2 separate regions of the Homo sapiens genome follow, and region 2 is linked to region 1. Evidence: promoter capture Hi-C in human tissues and cell types (Jung and others, 2019). All regions are on one chromosome and are shown on one strand. The core of a region is centred on a gene start or on the middle of the fragment in contact, and the rest is flanking DNA. Distances in the headings are between cores, read along the strand shown.

Evidence for each region. Contacts are between HindIII fragments. The study calls those that stand out against the background at their distance.
Region 2: a contact is called between a fragment that was not itself captured here and the fragment with the promoter of PEX5L in region 1, in 1 of the 25 tissues and cell types used here (H1 embryonic stem cells).

Annotation. Positions count from the first base shown.
Region 1 is chr3:180,034,499-180,041,255 of GRCh38, reverse strand. It overlaps PEX5L (peroxisomal biogenesis factor 5 like), which reads left to right and starts at 4,319. Exons shown (of 15, transcript NM_016559.3): 1 at 4,319-4,677. The coding sequence starts at 4,657. RefSeq lists a silencer at 4,204-4,253. The HindIII fragment of the contact is 6,291 bases long and covers 1-5,778 here.
Region 2 is chr3:180,338,084-180,344,398 of GRCh38, reverse strand. No RefSeq gene overlaps it. Among named protein-coding and RNA genes, the nearest start is that of LINC02053, 73 kb to the left of the region's middle. The HindIII fragment of the contact is 4,621 bases long and covers 1,808-6,315 here.

The sequences.
Region 1 (6,757 bases), core at 3,070-5,569:
TCAATCTGCTCCCGAGTAGTCCTGGAGCTGAGTTCATTTCCCTGATTGACTGACGTGGGTAATATGCCCATCTCCAACTGTGACCAATGGGGACGGAATGCACTGGTTGGCTCAGCCTGGGTGCTATGTTGCAACCCCAAAGCCTGGTAGTAAAATGTTTCCTACCACACAAGTGGACCAGAGTGAGGAAGAGATGGTTATTCAAAGCAAAGAGCCTTGAGAAAAGAGGCTTCCTGCCACTAGAAGAGGATGTTGCTCTGGGCAGCAAACGATATTCCATGACTGTGAATAAAAAGCTGAAGTTTTGGGACATTAGTGGGCAATGGAAAGCCACTAAAGATTTCTGACCTGAGCAGCATTGTGATTAATGCTGACCTTTATAAAATTAATCTGGCTGCGATGTATATGACAGGTTGATGTAGGAGATGAACGGAGGTGATAAAACTAGCTTTAAGTGATAAGAGGTTTAGGGAATCTGGGCTAGGATGGCAGTGGCAACAGTAGAAAGGAGTAGTCAAAAGCAAGAAATATTTTTGTTCACAAATGTTTTCTCACCAGGAATAAGAAACTCTAGAAAGTACACTTAATATTAAAAGCAATATTGGATCACTGAAAAAACATTGTCCTAAAGAGTAAACAAATATAGTGTAATTTCTTAAATTGGTTTAATAGGAGGCCCAGCTCTGAAGCATCCAGCTTGTTTGTTCATTTGGAAGAACATTGCTGCCATCTCCTCGTCATCAGAGTCCACATACTCTTATTATTCATAATTCTTCCTGGCAGCCTGGGGTTCCCAAATTTTTTCCAGATCAAATGCCCTGAAACACCAGCTAATCTCATTCTATGTGTCGAAGAGACAAAAAGGGTAAGTGGGCAAACTTTAACAAAATGTTCCTCCTTCTGATTGAACAACAAATACCAATTAGTCATTTTAATTTTGGTCTACAATTATTTTGACTTTTGTTCTCTCCTGCACCATCTTTCAGCACCAGAGTTTGAATTCTACAGATTATGAAAGAATGATTGAATCATCAAAAGACTCTTATCTCTGATTTTTAAGTCCACAAGAACACTAACCTCATCATTTTTACTAAGTTTTTTCAAAGATTTAATAAATCCTGAATTTTCAATACCCATTTGAAATGCAGGAGGATTCGCTTACTAATAAGCAAAATTAAATTTTGTCAATACAAAATAGATTCTACTGCTACCTCTCAATTATTTAATTGTATTACAGTGATTAAAATTGCAGTGGTACTAAGCACATTTCTTGCTGTAAGAAAGCTGAATGTGCTATGATTTTATGCCAAGTCCACTGACCACTCAAAATACAGTGAGATTATTTTATAAATGGAGTGCAATATGCATTCTTCTTCTCTAGTGGTACTGAGGTTGCTCATGTGTTATCACTGCAAAAGGCAAGAGCTAGCTTTGCCACATATTTACATGAATAAATAAACCTTCTAGGCCACAGTGCTGGTCAAATTTTATGGTGCATACAAGCACCTGGGGATCTTGTTGAAACGCATATTCTAATTCAGTAGGTCAGAAATGGCACCCAAGAGTCTGCATTTCTTACAAGCTCCCAGGACATGCTGATGTTGCTGGTCCACACACCACGTTTTGAGTAACAAGGGTCTTCAAATTTAATTACAAAATAAATCTTTTGTAAAATATTTTTCTGGACCTAGCTTATTAGACATGCATTGTTTCTGAGGAAAATAAAGATAATTCAAATCTCATTCCTAGTCTAAGAAATAGTCTAGGAAAGTGAAAGTTAAGCTTAACCAATCAGAAACCACAAACTAACCTCTAACTATGGACTTTCCATTAGAATGATCCAAATAAATCCAGTATTCCTCTTTAACCAAATAATTTCTTTGCTCTGCTTCCACATTTACCCTATAAAATCTTTCCCTTTAACGACTTCCGACAGAGTCCCCAACTGCTTTCGGTCTGCTGCTGCCTGATGCATGAATGGCTATTTGCTCAAAAAACCCTTTAAAATTTTAATGTGCCTTAGTTTATCTTCTAACAGAAGGAATAAGTGTGAAGAGGAATTCTTCACAAAGGAAAGCTTTCACTCCTGAGATTTTGAGAATGTAGGCAGTAACGAAATCAGTGACTCAGGTTTAAGAAGAGAATATATTGAGTTCTAGCTTCAACACTAGGCAGTTGCCATTCTGATCCAAATGCTTTTATGGTTGTTGGCTCCTTGAACCTGCCGTTAGATAATAACAAGCATATAATGGATTGGAAAACTTTGACCCTATTGTTACTTCACAGATTTCTAGTACTTTTAAATCAAAGCACTATACTTTTCCCAGTTTTTATATAACATGATAGTATTATATGATAATTAGTACCATTTTAAAATCTGCAGTACTTGAGGTCTCAGAAAATCAGTCCTCATCTTTTCTGAACTGGGAAAAAAAAGTCTGTTTGCATATTCATATATCATGGTTGGTAATTTACAACTTCCTTTGCATACATTCAGTCCTCAGCAGCTCTGTGCAGCACACTAGGTAGATATTTGTCTTATTTCAAAATTGAGGAAATAGAGAGTTGGTACACTTGCCCAAGAGAGCATTGAGGTAGTGAGATGGAACTAGCACCTCTTGTTGCTGACTCCAAGTCCTGTGCTTTGTCCTATAAAGAACAATAAAATAAGAACTGGATGACATTTTACAGTTTACAGTGCTTATGAACATATCTCTATTTTCAGGGTAAAAAAAATAAGTTTTTTATACAGAGTTTAGACATGAAAAAACTGATGTCCAAAGTAGTAAAAGGAAATTGTCCAAGGGTAACTACTAGTGGAATCTAATAGGAATCCATGTCTCCTGCTTACAGGTCTTAGTCCTTTTGTGTTTGTTTGGTTGGTTGTTTTAGGACCTCAGATGCATTGAATTGGTTCATTTCACATCCTTTTGTTCATTTCACATTCTCCTCATTAGTCCATACATGGTTCTATTTTATTTAGTTACACAGTAATTTTTAATAGGATATTAGGTGTCCTATGAATCACTACCCGGCATAGAAGATAAGACATTAACATCTAAACTTCAAGTGAAATGCTTCCCCATCTATTTCCCTGCCTCCCTTCACCCAGGGTCACCAACACTCTGAACACTATATTCATTGTTCCACTGCTTTCCTTTTTATATTGTTGTATATGAATATATGAATACACATTGACATTTCTAGGGATTTTTTAAACTTTATAAAAAGCATATTATGCTATATGCAATATTTTGGGGATATCATGCTGTACATAATATGAGGGGCCTGTAGAATTGGAGATGTTTTTACCAACAAAATTAGGTAATCACAGTATACACCACCCCGTGGTGTGTGTGTATATATGAACATTTATTGTGTAGACACATCAAACTACCCAGTCTCAACTTGAGACATATTTAAATGCACTCTTCATATATGTGTGTATGTGTGTGTAAGTGTATAGTAGTAAAGGTCTATTCATTCAGCAAATATTTATTGTGTGCCTGCCATGTGTCAGGAAGTACTAAATACCTTACTGTGCACACACGTGCAAAACCAAGTGCAACACTCCACCCCCCTAAAAAAAAGTCCCTGATCTCATGGAAATAACATTGTACAGAGGGAGAGACAGACAGTACATAAAATAAATATGGAAAATATAAAGGATGTTAGGTGATGTTACGTGCTAGGGAAAAAAATAAAACATGCCAGATCCTCAGGGACTAGGGTTTGCCGTTTTAAATAGAATGCTCGGCGATGAACTGGGGATGAGGGGAGCGGGGAGTCTTTATTTAACGGGTGATACGGACGTAACTTTCGAGAGCTGAATCAGAACCGAAGTAAACTCTTCGGCAACCCCTGCACTCAGCCTATAATGTCTGTAGGATAACAGGCTCAGCCGCGGTGGATGGCCCCCGGAGAGACGATGCATGTCTTCCCGCCTTTCTTCCGGCCGGCCATCCTCTCCGCTAGAATCGCCCTGCCCGCCGACGCCGCACCTGAACGCCGCGCTGCTGCGGGCGTTGTACACCAGCGCGACCACCGCCTGCCGGCACCTCGCCTTGCCGCCGCGCGCGCGCAGCCCCGAGGACGCGCTCGGGGAGCGCGCACCGCCCGGGGCCGCCCTCGGGCCGCTCCCAGGCCCCTGGGAACGCGCGCGCGTGCCCGGTCCCGCGGCCTCTCGGCAGGCACGCGGCTGGGAGAACGGCGCGCGCCCCGCTCGGCAGCTGCGGCGGCGGCTGGTGTAGGCGCTCACGTCAGGGCTGGGAGGAGGGGGTTCGCAGCTCAGAGAGAGAGAGACATGAGGCAACCTGGCAGGAAGCGAGAAAGAGTTCGGCGAAGAAGGAGTGAGTTCTAGAGACGCCCCGCGAGCAGGACCCGCGCCTGCAGGAGAGCCTGGCCGACCCGGCTCCTCGCCTTCTCTGCGCGCTCTCCCGCGTCCGCTTTCAGCACCCCGAGCGGAGAACAGTTCCCGGCAGCCCGCAGCGCTGCCGAGTGGCCGCCGGCCGGCCGAGTACCCGGAGCTCCAGGGGGCTCAGGAGCACCCTCTGAGAACCCGCTGTGCACCCACCTTTTCCCCTCTTTTGGTGGGCAAGTAAGCACGGGGGAAAAGCATCCGGTGGCCTCAGGGAGCCCTGAAGAAACCGAAGCAGAATGTACCAGGGACACATGCAGGTAAGACATTTCTATAGGGCTGGAGAGAATTCTTGGGGGCTAATTTAAGAGCAAGGCGGTTCACCAAGTTTCTGTGGTCAAGTGCTGCCTTCGCACAGCTCAACAAGTGAAGTGATGCAACATGACCGTGACATTTCTGTCCGGTGCTGCCGGGAAAACTAGACCGGTTTCCGAAGGTGGGAGAAGGGGAGGGAAGACCTCAGAACTTCGATTGGGGAAGTTTGTTTTCTGTGCATTCCCTGAGCCTGTTTCTTTAAACAGGATCAAGGAATCGAAACAGAGGAAACCCTAGAGATGACCGTGTTTCCGTTGTAATCCTATTGATGCATCTCAGCATGTATGTCAACTGAAGGGCAAACAATAATAGGAAAGACAAAGCTTTTCCTTTACCATCTGAAAAGGTTGCTTGACTTAGAACACTCTGTCACTTTCGTTTCATTTTTTAAAGTGTTATATTTAAAAAACGATTTATAGTGTATTTTCCCCCTTCACATTATGGGACATTGCCATCTACTCCAATAGTCACAGGATGACTTGGGAGGATGAATTTCAAACACATGTCCAAGGAGCTCTAATGTTTTTCAGGGGAGGTGCTGCCTCCGGTTGTTATTAATATTCATCTGAGCTGAGCCGCTGCTTCTTTCCGATGCAAACACACTCTACTCTCTTGGGCAAGATTACTTTAACCTTGACTCCAGTTCTCATTCATACGGTTGGTTGGTTCTTATAAAGGCAGATATATGCTTTGGGAGAAAAATAAAATACTAACTCAGCTTTCTAAAGTATGAACTGGACTCTTTATCGCACCTAAATGGTTTAGTCATCAGGTTTGATGTTTGGGCTTCCTTTCCATTCCAAAGATGGTCAAATACAATCATTATGTGTGATGCCTTTATCCTGGTGTATAACATTTATGAATACTGAGGATTTTGCTTCTGTGTCTTTTAGAGCAATTGGAAATAGATAAATATGTTGTTATATTTATGACTTAGTACTACCCAGATTTAATTTCCATAACTTAGGGAAATTCTTTTGGACTATAATCCATTTTTAAATAAAACACAATATTTCATCATAGTCTCAATTTTTATAAGAATTCTCAATATACAGTGCCAGAATTCCAAAAGATTTCCCGTATGACTAACATCATCCTGTTTTGAAAATTATTAATGTGATTATATCACATTTGATAGACAAAAAGTAGTGAATGAAGTATATTTTTAAATATTATATATGATCAATGTGATCTGCATGTTTCTTATAAAAGCTACACCAATTGAAAAGTTAAGTAACATAGAAGAATTCAAATAATGACTGCTGAAAAAATTAACAAAGAATTATTACTATAGTTTTATGCTTCATCTTCACCCAAGAATGATACTTACAATTTTATATATTATCTGTTTTTTAAACAGTTTCTTCACAAGGGTAAAACAGGAAGATTTTAATAGAGTCAACCCTCAAAAAATTGTTCATTTACACAAAATTGACAATTGACCACTAAGGGGAAATTAACAAAAACTTTGCACAGTATTGTTTTGTTGCTTAAAAAATATGTTACTGTGAATGAAGAATCGAAGCAACAATATGGTAAATTCATGCACCCAAAAACAATTTTAACTCAATTTTCTCAATATCTCAAAGGAGAATGTTATTGAAACTTGAGTTGCCTGGAACAATGTCTGAGGGTTTAATTTCACTTTGAAAGAATAAACAAAATATAAGACTCTGCATATTCTCCCAACTTAATGTCTTTTGCTTGTGCACTGCTGTAACAGCAAATATGATGACTTGCAGTAAAACTCACAAATCTTTGCTGCCAAGCTTAAATTAAAACATTACTAAATAAAGACTGTAATCAATACATCCACCAAAATTTCAGAGCATAATACTTTTTTCCTACTTACTATTAACCATTAATGTTAAGCATAAAACTTCCGAGGCCTTAGTAGGTACGTTTAGTAGTTATTCAATAGTATGATGATCTGAATGGGCATCTGCTCCCCCCAACAAAAAAATACCTATGACAGATTGATTCATAATATACTTGTTGGCTTACATTTTAAACTCATATCTCTTC
Region 2 (6,315 bases), core at 2,869-5,368, 300 kb before region 1:
TAACCAAAACAGCATTGTACTGGCATAAAAAGACATGCAGAACAACGAAACAGAATAGAGAATCCATAAATTAATCCACTTACCTACAGCCAACTTATTTTTGACAAAGTTGCCAACAACATTTGTTGGAGAAAGGACAGTCTCTTCAATAAATGGTACTGGAAAACTGATTATCCATATGCAGAATAATATTAGACTACCACCTCTCACCCTATGCAAAAATCAACATAAAATTGATTAAATGTCTAACTATAAGACCCAAAACTATAAAACTACTGGAAGAAAACACAAGGAAAACACTTCAGGACATTGGCCTGGGAAAAGATTTTATGAATAAGATCTCAAAGCACAGGCAACAAAAGTAAAAATAAACAAATGGTATTTTATCAAACTAAAAATCTGCCAGCAAAGGAAACAATCATGAGTGAAAAGGCAACCTTCAGAATAGGAGAAAATATTTGAAAACTATTCATCTGCCAGGGGATTAATATCCAGAATATACAAAGAACTCAAACTTACCAACAGCAAAAACTAACCAACTCTAATTAAAAATGGGAGAGTGATCAAAACAGACATTTCTCAAAAGGCATACAATGGCCAACAAATATATCAAAAACATACTGAACATGACTAATCACCAGAGAAATACAAAACAAAACCACGGTGAAGTATCATCTCACCCCAGTTAGGGTGGCTATAATAAAACAACAACAACAACAACAACAACAAATGCTGGTGAGGATATGGAGAAAATAGAACTCTTACACACTGTTGGTAGGAATGTAAACTAGTATATCCACTATGGAGAACAGTATGGAGGGTCCACAAAAAACTACAAACAGAACTACCGTATGATCCTGAAATCCCACTACTTGGCATTTATCCAAAGAAAAGGAATCAGTATATCAAAGAGACATCTGCACTTCTGCATTTATTGTAGCACTATTGACAGTAGCCAAGTTATGAAATCAGCCTAGGTGTCCAACAACAGATGAATGGATAAAGAAAATGTGATATATGTGTGTGTGTTTGTACATGTGTGTTGTGTGCGTTTCCATTGTTTATCCTCTTCAATTTCATATATATATAATATATTTTACCATGTTGGCCAGGATGGTCTCAATCTCTTGACCTCATGATCTGCCCTCCTTGGCCTCCCAAAGTGCTGGGACTACAGGCGTGAGCCACCGCGACCGGCCTCAACTTTTGAAAAGAATGAAATTCTGTCATTCATGGTAACATGGATGGAACTGGAGGACGTTATGTTAAGTGTAATTCACAAGGAACAGAGAATTAAACATCACATGTTCTCACTCATATGTAGAAGCTAAAAAAAAGTTGATCTCATAGAAATAAAAAGTAGACCAGAGGATACTAGAGGCTGGGAAGGGTGGTGAGAAGGCAGGGATAGGGAGAGATTAAAGGATACAAAATTACAGTCAAATAGAAGAAATAAATTCTGGTGTTCTTCCACTGTAGGATGACTACAGTTAACAATACATAGTTTTATATAGGTAGAAGGAGGATATTGAATGTTCCCAACACCAAGAAATAATAAATGATGATAGATATGCTAATTATCCTGATCTGATCACTATACTTTATATGTATTGCAACACCACTGTGTATCCCATAAATATGTGTAATTATTATGTCAATTTAAAAAATAAAAGGAAAAGTTGGTTTTCAAAGTTTTGTCTGTCAGATACATGATTTTAATAAATGAAACACTAAAGTACAAATAGTTATAAGTTTTTCACTGGTGCAGAAAGGGCCTTGGAGATTTTTTGAATTAATTAACATAAATCTGATGCTGCAAAAACTGTCCAAATTAGTGTTTCAAGGAGTTTTGTTTTTTTTTCTAATAGTGAGAAATATTCTTTACCATAAAAATTGAGATATGCTGCATTTTATTTTACTGATGACTTCTTTTTCACAGAATTACATGCAGTTGTTAGAATTCAAATATCTTACCCCACAGATGGAGAAGGGCAGGAATTGTGACATTTCGTTTTCATAATTATTAATATAAATTAATTTGGTTATTCAGCGTTTGAAGTATTTGAGATTTTCTGTGTCTTTATCTTGTTTATGCAGATGTGCACCTCCTTAAGGGAACAATTGTATTTGCAAAATGCACCACTTGCTGGCTAGATAATGATGATGACAATGATTAAGAAAGATGTTATTGAACTATGTTGCTGGGCATGTGTTTGAGCCATGTTTGAGCCCGAGGCATATTAGTGCACTTGAATCTGGAAGGACCTGGTGCAAAATTATGAAGTAGAAGAAGCTGATCCAGCTCATAGGATGATAGAAGCAACGTTTTCTAAAATACATGACTTAATGGGCATATTTTAATTATATTTTCAATTTAGATTGAAAAGCATAGGCATTACTTGTTCAGTCACATGCCCTTTTTTGTAAGAGCTCTTAAACAATAAGAGCCTTAAGTGCAATACAAAAGAATAGACACCTCCTATAATCAATATGTTTTACATATCAAGAATCCTAAAAATTGAATATGAATGTTTCTTCTGCTTACCCCAGGAGCCAACCAGGAGCTGTCTGTTCAAAAAGAGACTAGTGTCTTAATTGTTACAACTATGACATCTTTTTATTCCTCTGAGAGAGCACCAATCTCAGCAAAGACGTCACTCCTCAAATTGCCGTGACAGGCTTCTCTCAGATGCAAACAGCTATCAATGTTTATGACTTCCAAAATAAGTTGCCCTTTGAGTCTAGGGCATACTAGTACACTTAAATACAGAAGGGCCTTGTGCAAGAGTATAAAATAGAAGAAGTTGTTCTGTGTCCTTTTTTTCTCCTTTGGCCATCTTCTTTTACCCTCGAAAGATGCCCAGGCTGATGTGCTCTCCCTTCTTCTCCCTTACAAAACCTATTCTCTGGAAATTACTGATGCCTAACACATTTTCTACTAGAAAAGTGACTGTATTTCTTACTACCTTTCTTATACAGGATTTCGATTCTTGAAGTTTCTGTTTGTCCTAGATGACTGGCACAATGACAAGGCCATATCTATTAAACTTTGAATAAAAAATATATTATGCTGTATGATAATAGCAGAAAATCAAGGGGGCTTCAAGTACTTCATGTGTTTCTGAATAAATTGTGGTCTGTTGTTTCAAATAAAACAAGACTTATCATTTATATTAAGCTCCTGTTAGTTTCTACCAAATTCTTTCTTATTCAAGGATCAGGTTTTGTTCTGATACCAGATTCTTCCCATGCATCTCAAAAAATTTCTGATGCTAAAGATACAGTCAATATATCTTAAGGAGACAATTGTGAGATTAAACATTCTAGAACCTAAGATATATGGAAAGCATTTGAAGAACTAGATTTTTAAAAACATTAACAAGGGTTTCTACGTTTTCATTTTCTATTGGGCCTTGCAAATTATGTAGCCAGATTGACAAAAGGTAACACAGTGCATTCTAACAACAATGATTAATTTTGCCTGTTTTTAGACTATATATAAATGTATTTATATATATAGTATATACTTTTCCTGTATCTGGCTTCTTTCACTCAACAATTCACAAATTTCATGAATTTGTGAAATTTGTCTATATTATTGTGGGTATTTATAGATTATTCTATATTATTATGTGTATTTATAGATTATTAACTCTCTCTATTGTAGACCACTGATTTTTAGGCTTTAGTGTGCTTCAGAAGCATCTGGAGGGCTTGATAAACCAGATTTCTGAGCTTTACCCCCAGAGTTTCAGTTTCAGTAGAACTGGGGCGAAGCCCAAGCATTTGCCTTTCTAACAAGTCCGTGAGTGATACTGATGCTACTGGCCTGGGGACTACATCTTGAGAACCACTGCTATAGAGTATGCCATATGTGAAAATACCATGATTTACTTATCCATGCTACTATTGGTGGATATTTGACTATGGATAGCCTTTTTAAAGCTGTATTCATTTATTTATCCTTGATTATATCAATTTATTCTAATTATATTATTTAACACCTGTATCAAACATCAATGTCCTAGGACCAGAAATATGAAGATTCCTGCACCCAGGAATAGGTGGTCTAGTTAGAGAGACAGAAAATAAACAGATAATTTCAAAACAATAATAAATTCCATGTTGGGAGTATACGTGTGGTGCTTTGGTAACACAGGGAAGGGAGAAAAAATCAGAATGATGGAGATGGTGGAAAAATATCTTAGCTGAAATAACCACTGAGCTGAATTTGGAGTTGGAGTGTTAGCTATGGGGGAGAGATAATTTAGGCAGAGGGAAGCTTTGTGGAAGCTTAGGTGGGTGATTGGTAGGCCACATTTAGGGAATTACAGCAGTTCCATATGGCAGGAACGTAGAGATAGTCAGAAGAGAGAGAGAGCGAGAGAGAGAAAAAAAAGGAATATGTCTTGAAATGACCAATTTAGTAGACTGGAAGTACAGCATTTGGTATATGAATATGCTTCATAATCTAAATTTACATGAAACTAATGACGAGTATAGATATGCCTTACTTTAAGCCCATATAAATAAATCTAACTCCTCTCATTAAAAAAGATGATCAGTTAGATTTCTAAGTATTCCTCTGCTACATTTAAAATGAGAAAAAAATTTACTTTCCAAAATGGATTTATGTGTCATTTTTTTAAACAAGATGCACATTATCTTACCTTTCTAAAAAAAACTGTATAAGTTTATATAGGATAACAATAATATAATTATAATATTTACTGAATGGTAAGCATTAAACTCATTTAATCCTACCTAGAATCCCATGAGACATTTATTATTATTATCATCTCTATTTAATATATGAGAAGATAAAGTATGGAAAGTTTAAATAATTTGGCAAAGGTCACTCAATAAATGACTGATTTCAAACTAATTCCAAGACCACTTCATTAATCACCACGTCTCTTCCCCTTGCTGTTCCATATTAAGCATGGCAAGCTAGAGATGTGGTTTAGATTTATGAGATGATCATCTGGACAGGATCTACAGGGCTTATTCACTGAAGTAATCCCTACTTTGCCTTCATAGAGCCAATAGGCAAGACAGATATAAACACAAGGGTGTACCATAAAGTCTTACTGGTAACATTTGGGCACAAATGAATCAGAGCTCAATTCTATTTGGTGAAAGCAGTGGAAGTATGCAGAAGGAATTCCAAAAGAAGAGGTTTGAGTCCCCCAATCATGTAGGTGTTTGGGAAACAAGTGGAAAAGGCCTCTAGCCAGGGGAAACAGTTTGAACAAAAGTATTGTATATTCTGGGAACTGAAAATAGTTCCATCTAGTTTAGGCTGAGGCTGAATATGGAGGAGCTGCATAAATGAAACTGGAAAGGTGAGTGAGATTACCTAATGAGGGACCTTATATGATATATGAAGTCATGGGGTAATTTATAATAATGAGGAGGGAAAGGTTATCAGGGAGTCATATGACCAGATTTGCATTTTTAACGATCACTGAGAAGGTAGTAGAAGGATGGATTGGAAGAGGGCAGGGAGACCATCTAAGAATTATCATTGTAATTTAAGCCTTTAATTAGTATTCAGAATCAGTAGATACATTTTTCCAAATTTCTGGCCAGAATACACTAAGTGATTGATATATTTTCAGTTAAGCATTCTTAAGCACAGTACAGTGTTAATCTGTTTATGCCTATCATGTTTATTACCTATAAAAGACAATGATAAAAATGTCATTTGACTGCAATTCCTCACTTGAAATCACAATGTCACCAAAAAAGAAAAATTATACAATAGAGCTACAAAAAATATTGTAAAATTACAAGCTTAAATAAATTGAACTAAATACAGACAAATTCTTTCAACTTGATTAATTTGCTCTCAGATTACAGAGAACTTCTAAAGGAGAAGGTCTATGTAGTCAAGAAATAAAAGTAATGATGTTTCATTGATTATGGCCAATTAAAGGGCCATTACTAGATGCTGAGCCCCTTGTGGGCAGAATTTTTAAAAATTCAGATATATGAATACTAATTACAACCATGGTAATAATAATATTGGTAACTGCCATCCATTAAGTCCCCACTATAAAGTTGTTGTTTCATGTGTATTATCTCATTTAAGCCATATACATATACCAACTCTATGAAGCAGGTGTCATTATTTCCACTTTAGAATAGGAAAATTGAGGCTCAAATAATTTATCCAAGATCATGTAGTAAGTGAAAAGCAGGGGTTTAAATTCCAAATAAATGTTATCTAGGAACTCATGTCCTTAACTGTTAAATTTCTACAATCTATCACTCCCTTAGATTGCTACTTGGTAGAAAGTCAATGTTTAATAA